2 separate regions of the Homo sapiens genome follow, and region 2 is linked to region 1. The links are contacts of gene promoters, found by promoter capture Hi-C in human tissues and cell types (Jung and others, 2019). All regions are on one chromosome and are shown on one strand. The core of a region is centred on a gene start or on the middle of the fragment in contact, and the rest is flanking DNA. Distances in the headings are between cores, read along the strand shown. Region 1 holds the start of NT5C (5', 3'-nucleotidase, cytosolic). Region 2 overlaps H3-3B (H3.3 histone B).

Evidence for each region. Contacts are between HindIII fragments. The study calls those that stand out against the background at their distance.
Region 2: a contact is called between a fragment that was not itself captured here and the fragment with the promoter of NT5C in region 1, in 1 of the 25 tissues and cell types used here (dorsolateral prefrontal cortex).

Annotation. Positions count from the first base shown.
Region 1 is chr17:75,129,970-75,133,362 of GRCh38, forward strand. NT5C (5', 3'-nucleotidase, cytosolic) reads right to left here and starts at 1,773. Exons shown (of 5, transcript NM_014595.3): 1 at 1,565-1,773; 2 at 1,212-1,312; 3 at 1,076-1,136; 4 at 784-898; 5 at 259-673. The coding sequence starts at 1,738. The coding sequence ends at 519. ARMC7 (armadillo repeat containing 7) reads left to right here. Exons shown (of 3, transcript NM_024585.4): 3 at 1-303. RefSeq lists an enhancer at 666-755 and silencers at 792-996, 1,366-1,935. The HindIII fragment of the contact is 10,965 bases long and covers 1-3,393 here.
Region 2 is chr17:75,776,260-75,779,652 of GRCh38, forward strand. H3-3B (H3.3 histone B) reads right to left here. Exons shown (of 4, transcript NM_005324.5): 2 at 2,788-2,925; 3 at 2,551-2,704; 4 at 175-2,464. The coding sequence starts at 2,915. The coding sequence ends at 2,336. Among named protein-coding and RNA genes, the nearest start is that of H3-3B, 1.8 kb to the right of the region's middle. RefSeq lists enhancers at 240-329, 2,608-3,212 and a silencer at 2,841-3,110. The HindIII fragment of the contact is 5,666 bases long and covers 1-3,393 here.

The sequences.
Region 1 (3,393 bases), core at 523-3,022:
TGGTCAACATAAGGAGCGTGGGATCCGATGGAAAGGTGGAGCTCAGGGAAAATGGGGGTCCTTGCCTCTCGTGTACCCCCTCAAGGCTGACCCCTTAGATGGCCCAGGAATGGCAGGTGCTACAAAAATGGTACCCACGTGGGCATGGAAATGGGGCAGATTAGGGGACCACTGGACTCAGAGGGGAGGGAAGGGCTCATCAGCACCCGCTCAGGGAGCCTGTCCCTTTATGTTCCCAAATAAAGGGTCCTAGAAGACTAGAAAGCCAAGGTCTTTTATTAAAGGTCCCGACTGGTTTTCCCACTGTATTTCCATGCCAGCCAGGGTCCAGGGACAGCCTCTCGGGAGGTACCGGGTGGCTGGGCCTGGGGCCCGGTAGCACAGCGCTTAACGGTATCTGCCTGCTCCACTCCACGGGGCCAGAGGCACCAGCACGATGCCGCCCCGACTCGGCTCTGCGGTGGCCCCTGTGGGCCTGCCCTTCCTTTAGCTCCAGCTGCTGCCCGCGGCATCCCCGCTCATTCCCGCTGCGCAGCTCCGCGCTTGCTATCTAAGATCTCCCTCCAGTTGTCACTCCAGGAGAGCAGCCGTCTCCTTGTCGGGGGCAGGACCAGGTGCCGATTGTGGCAGCAGGTGAACAAGATGTGCTCCCAGCTTGGGGTCTCCTCCTGGCCTAGGACAGTGAAAGACAGCGCGCTGCCATCTGTCATGGGTATTATTACTCCCTCTCCCTAATCCGGGCAGGCCAGAGGCCTGGAGGCTGCCAAGGATAACGGGTCCAACCTCGAACTGTGTCCTTGTCATCAATGAGCAGGTCCCCCAAGACCACCGTCTTGTCCCTTGTCAGGATAATTCGTTCTACGAACTGGGGCCCCAGGTGCTGCTCCACCCAGCGGTACTGTGTAGAAAACACAGTCTGTGAGTAGGGCCTGATGGAAGCCGGAATTCAGGGATAGGGACTTGGCTCTAAGCCCTTGAGAGCCCCCCACCCCCACCTTCTGGGTTTCTGGTGGTTTCTTTTTAAAATCAGGATTTAGGCAGCTCCACGTGCGGAGTAGGGGCGGGGCAGCCACACCTTCTCACCCACACAGTGGTGGTACTTCAGCAGGGGGCTGGTGCAGATGAAGACCTGCGTGCTGCGGAGAAGGACGCGGTTACCGCCGGGAGCCAGGAGCCCGCCCAGGACTCCGCCCGCCCCCCTCTCTCCTTACTCCGGTAGGTCGTTCATCTCCCGCACAGCGTCCAAGGCTCCCGGGATGGGCTCCAGGTCCAGGAAAAAGCCCGGGGCTTCGTACACACTGGCCACTTTATCCTGAAAGACAAGAGTTCTGGGTCCCGGCTTCCCGTTCCCGCGAGGACCCGCAGGGAGGCTCCTGGGGGCTCCGGGCCCGAGCTCAGAGGGGCGGAGGGGGCGTCGGTCAGGGGCACGCGCCCAAAGGCTCCTCCCCAGGGTGCGCTGCCCGCGGGTTCCAGGGTGAGAGCTCTGCGCCCTTCACAGAGAAGGGGGAGACCCCCGGAACGGAGCGAGCGGGCCCTGCCCGGGTGGGGACCCTGCGCCCCCTACCGCCAGGTCGGGCCGCAGGGCGCGGTACTGCTCGCGGGCCAGGAAGCCGCGGCGTTGCTCCAGCGGCACGTGCGGCTCCTCAGGGAAGCGGCGGCGGAAGCCCCGCAGGAGGCCGGCCTCGAAGTCGGCCAGGACGCCGTCCATGTCCACCAGCACGCGCACGCTCCGCGCCATCGCCGCCGGGCCGGAGCTGCGAGCTCTCGGGGTCTGGGGGGCGCGGGCTCGGCCGGAAGCGGAGGGAGCGCTGCTTCCGGAGTCCGCCGGGCTGATTTGCATAGAGTGTCCGGGCCGCCCCGCCCAGGTCGTAAACCAGTGCCGACGGCCCTGCGGTTGCGCGAGGCCATCCTAGGGTTCGGGTGCAGGGACGGCTTTGGGGGGCACTTTTCTGACCCTGCGCTTCTTCGGGACCCAGCCTTTGTCCCCATCAGCCGCCTCCCACTTTACGGCAGACGTACCCCCGTTCACCCCACGTTACTAGTAGGGGACCGACCTTCCGGGGGCCCAACAAAGGGATGCTCTGAAATACTGGGAAGCATCTAACGAGGAGTCAAGGGTCCTAAACCCGTGGGGCTAGCTCCACATTTTTTTTCTTTTTTTCTTTTTTTTTTTTTTTATTTTGAGACGGAGTCTGGCTCTGTCGCCCAGGCTGCGGCGCAGTGGCGGCGCGATCTCGGCTCACTGCAGCCTCCGCTTCCCGGGTTCAACCGATTCTCTTGCTTCAGCCTCCCGAGTAGCTGGGATTACAGGCACCCGCCACCACGCCTGGCTAATTTTTGTAGTTTTAGTAGAGACGGGGTTTCGCCATGTTGGTCAGGCTGGTTTCAAACTCCTGACCTCAAGTGATCTGCCTGCCTTGGCCTCCCAAAGTGTTGGGATTATAGGCTTGAGCCACCGCACCTGGCCAAAGTCTTATTACCGCAGTACCGTGGTCTCAGTGGATTGCTTTCGTCTGTGCAGTGGAGCAGGAACAATCCCTCGAGGACTACAAAGTGAAATGAATCTGTTAACTGGTTTGTGTAAGTCTAGCTCGTTAAGAGACTAATTCACACTAGAGTTGGCTTGAAACATGGGAGCTTCAAGTGTGGTTTCCCCCGGAAAGATGATTTTGATCAAGCACAGGTAATCAGGACTGTCCTCAGGACTTTATGTGGAACTGACATCGCTTACCTACTCCCGTCTAGAAAATGCTGAACAGGGCCAGGTGCGGTGGCTCACGCCTATAATCCCAGCACTTTGGGAGGCCGTGGCGGGCGGATCATCTGAGGTCGGGAGTTCAAGACCAGCCTGACCAACATGGAGAAATCCTGTCGCTACTAAAAATACAAAATTAGCGTGGTGGCACATGCTTGTAATCCCAGCTACCCGGGAGGCTGAGGCAGGAGAATCTCTTGAATCCAGGAGGCAGAGGTTGCGGTGAGCCGAGATCATGCCATTGCCCTCCAGCCTGGGCAGCAAGAACAAAACTCCTTCTCAAAAAAAAAAAAAAAAAAAAAGAACATGCTGAACTGTGATACATTTTGTTGACTCTTCTTTTTGTGGATGTCATGAAACTTCCTGACTCCACTCAAATCTATTTGCCTACAAACTATAAAGCCAGGCGCCGTGGCTCAGGCTGGTAATCCCAGCACTTTGGGAGGCCCAGGTGGGAGACAGCTTGAGCCCAGGAGTTCAAGACCAGCCTGAGCAACACAGGGAGACCCTGTCTCTACAATAAACAAATCAATAAGCTGGGTATGGTGGCGCATGCCTGTGGTCCTAGCTACTCATGAGCCTTAGGTGGGAGGAACCCTTGAGCCCAGGAAATTGAGGCTACACAGCCTTCATCCTGC
Region 2 (3,393 bases), core at 403-2,902, 650 kb after region 1:
GGCACTGTCCTGGGCCAACTGTCACTGAGGTCACCTCAATAGGGAGCTTCCTTATTATTGAATGCGCACGTCCCAGCCCCAGATGAATCAGAAGTCAGTGCTTTTTGGACATTGCCCCAAACTTTTTGAAAGACATTATCATTTGAATGAAAACCATTGAGAAATGAGAAAATCTTAACTTCAAAAATTTTATTTTAGTCTCATCCATCAAGGGCATAGGATACCTGCATCAGCTGCAACTTCTGCTTTTCTCCTTTGCCTCTGCTCCTTTACCCTTACCGAGGGATATCCCATACAGGAAGCCGCCTACAACCAAAAGCTATCTTCGCCTTCTGGGTTGAGTGCTCAAGCCAAGTGTGGAAATGCAAGTCACTGCTTCGGCAGATTGCAAGCTGCCCAATATAATCTAAGAGCCTTCTATGCCAGCCTGCAGACTGGAGAAGGTTCACTAGTGTCACCCACTTGGGTTGTCACAGGTAGTAAGCAGAAGCTAACTCATCACCGTAGCCAGGTTTGTGTACTTTGTTTCCAGACACGCTACAGCATAGCACGTTCCAACATCTGATCTTAATCTCATTCTGAAGCACAGTGAGGAATCAAGTGTGCTTGTTCCAGAGCTGATTATGAACTTTCTAGAAAAGCGGGTCATTATATTGCATCCTTTCATAGGAGCTCATTATCACGACCTGAAAGATACCTACTTTACCTTCCCTCCAAAATATCACATTTGAAACTAACCCAAACTTTTGAGAAAGCAATTTTAATGGGGTATAACTTTAAGCAGTTGCTAACTTCAAACGTGGAACGCTTTGATGACTGCTGGCTCTCATGCTGTCTCACTGACATCCACGTACTATGCTTTAGTGGCCATCATCGCACAAGGAAACTGGTTTCATACTGAAGTTTAAGACTGAGTTCTACACCTGTGGGCTTCTACACTACGGAACGGGAGTGGGGGGGCTGAAAAGCTTATTAATATACTTTGTCTTAGCCCACACTGCAAATACAGCACTATTATGGCATCTTAATCAAGCAGAGAGCTGTTCACATGCTTTCTACAGTATCTTTATAAATAAAAGGTTCCTTTATCCACCAAACAACACCTGAAATGATCTAAGTTCAAAACATTAGTATACAAGGACCTAGATAATGGGACATGTGAAAACTTAGTACATTCAATTTAGGTTTTGGACACTTAGTTGGATAAACAAGTTTATTTGTAAATTTAGTCAACATACATAATTGACCTAAAAACTTCAGTAAATTTTAAAACCACTTGGAAGGCCATCTCTATAAAAATGATTTTCCCAGGACAGTAACCAGATGTAACCTAACCCAACACCATCTTAATTGGCAGAGGTTCAGTGGGCTGGAGTTTTGTGCTCCTCCCCCACACCAAGTTTTTATAATACAAATGCCACAAGAAAAAGAACTTCGGTACTGTTTCCTCAGCAGAGGAGAAAAACTCAACCTAGTTATGAGACCAACCACACAACACAATGAAAAGCTGCACTAACTAGTTCAGAATGTTAGTTAAGATGATGCTGGTGTGAATAACTCGTTTTTTCTAGAGCCCTTATAAATAAAATCCCCCAGTTAGTGTTTGCATTATCAGCTAGAGGGTTAACATGTGGTAGAATGAGGACTTATGCAAGGTATAAATGCGCATAGCATTTTACTACTATGAGAACAAGTGCAGTCAGAAGAAAACCAACTGGACTCTAAATTACACACACCTTAATGACAAGACTCCCCACCACTTGTGAATGTAAAACATTTAATTTAAAAATGTTGATACTACAATATATAAAATAGCTATTATAAATGCACATAGTGTATTCTATAGCTGCCAGGTTTACTTTTTTTTTTTTTAAAGGAAACTGTAAGTTACACTGTGGTTAAGACTTGTATCTTCACCCTTGAAAAAGCCCACATTCTATCACAGTGATGTATGGTCAGACTTAACAGCCCCAATTGTTAAACACTTGGATCAAGTCATAACCAGTTTTATTGCAAAAGGACCCTGTACACATTTATCAACTCTAGTACCTTAATAGCTACCCAACAAGTCATTAACATACAGAAACATGCATCATGAGAAGCAAGAAGTATCACCCATCCCTTCTGCATATTAGCAACTTGTCACTCCTGAGCAACAGTGCTCACATCACTGAGGTCTGTGAACAGTCACTTTTCGCATTCATCCTGAGTGAAAGATGGAATGACTTAAGTACAAATGCAACATATTATAAACAATTTCTTACAAAAAAAGTCACAAATTAAACCAAAGTATTTTACAGAATTTACTACAAAACGCCATAAAAACTGCCTTCACTTAAGCTCTCTCTCCCCGTATCCGGCGAGCCAACTGGATGTCTTTGGGCATGATGGTGACTCTCTTAGCGTGGATGGCACACAGGTTGGTATCTTCGAACAGACCCACCAGGTACGCTTCGCTAGCCTCCTGTTGAGGACGAGAGCCGCACTATTAATCCCACTCGGGGAGCGGAAACCGCCCAGCCCTCCCCCGGCTCCAGGCCTTTGTCTTACCTGCAGCGCACCGATGGCTGCGCTCTGAAACCTCAGGTCGGTTTTGAAATCCTGCGCGATCTCCCTCACCAACCTCTGGAAGGGCAGCTTCCGGATGAGCAGCTCGGTCGACTTCTGATAACGACGAATCTCTCGAAGCGCCACGGTCCCGGGCCTGCAGCGAGCAGGGGAGGAGTGAGCGGACGCTGCCGCACAAAGCCGGCCACCGCCGGGCCATTGTTCCCCCGCCCGACCTACCTGTAGCGATGAGGCTTCTTCACCCCGCCGGTAGAGGGAGCGCTTTTCCTGGCGGCTTTCGTGGCCAGCTGTTTGCGGGGGGCTTTCCCACCGGTGGACTTACGAGCAGTCTGCTTGGTTCGGGCCATTTTCTTTCACCTAAGAAAGACGCCCCGAAGATAAGGCCGCCGCGCTCACCCGGGCCGCCCCCCAGGGCTGCGGGGGGAGGAACAGATCCTGGCCCCACCGCCGGGCCTCCCGCCTCCCCGCGCCCCACCTCGCGGCAGCAGATGGCCGAGGGCCGCCAACCTCCTCCCCCTCCCCTAATGACTCAGGCTGCGAGGAGCGGCAGCCTCCCCCGGGAGGGGGAGCGCGGGGAGGAGTCACTTCCCTTCCTCGACGGGCGGAGGCCCGACTGCCCGGAACCCGGCGTCGGGACCTCTGAATCACCGCCGGGAAAAGGCGGGGACACAGTTCCGGAACAAAGCCCCAAGGGGAAACCTCCCGGCCCCATACCCGACCCGACGCCAGCGGCCCGAGCAGCCCCCGCCGCTCGGCTCCCAACGGCCGCGGCGCGCGGCGCCAACGGTTGGCAGAACCTGAAGCCGCGGGTAAACCTACGAACGC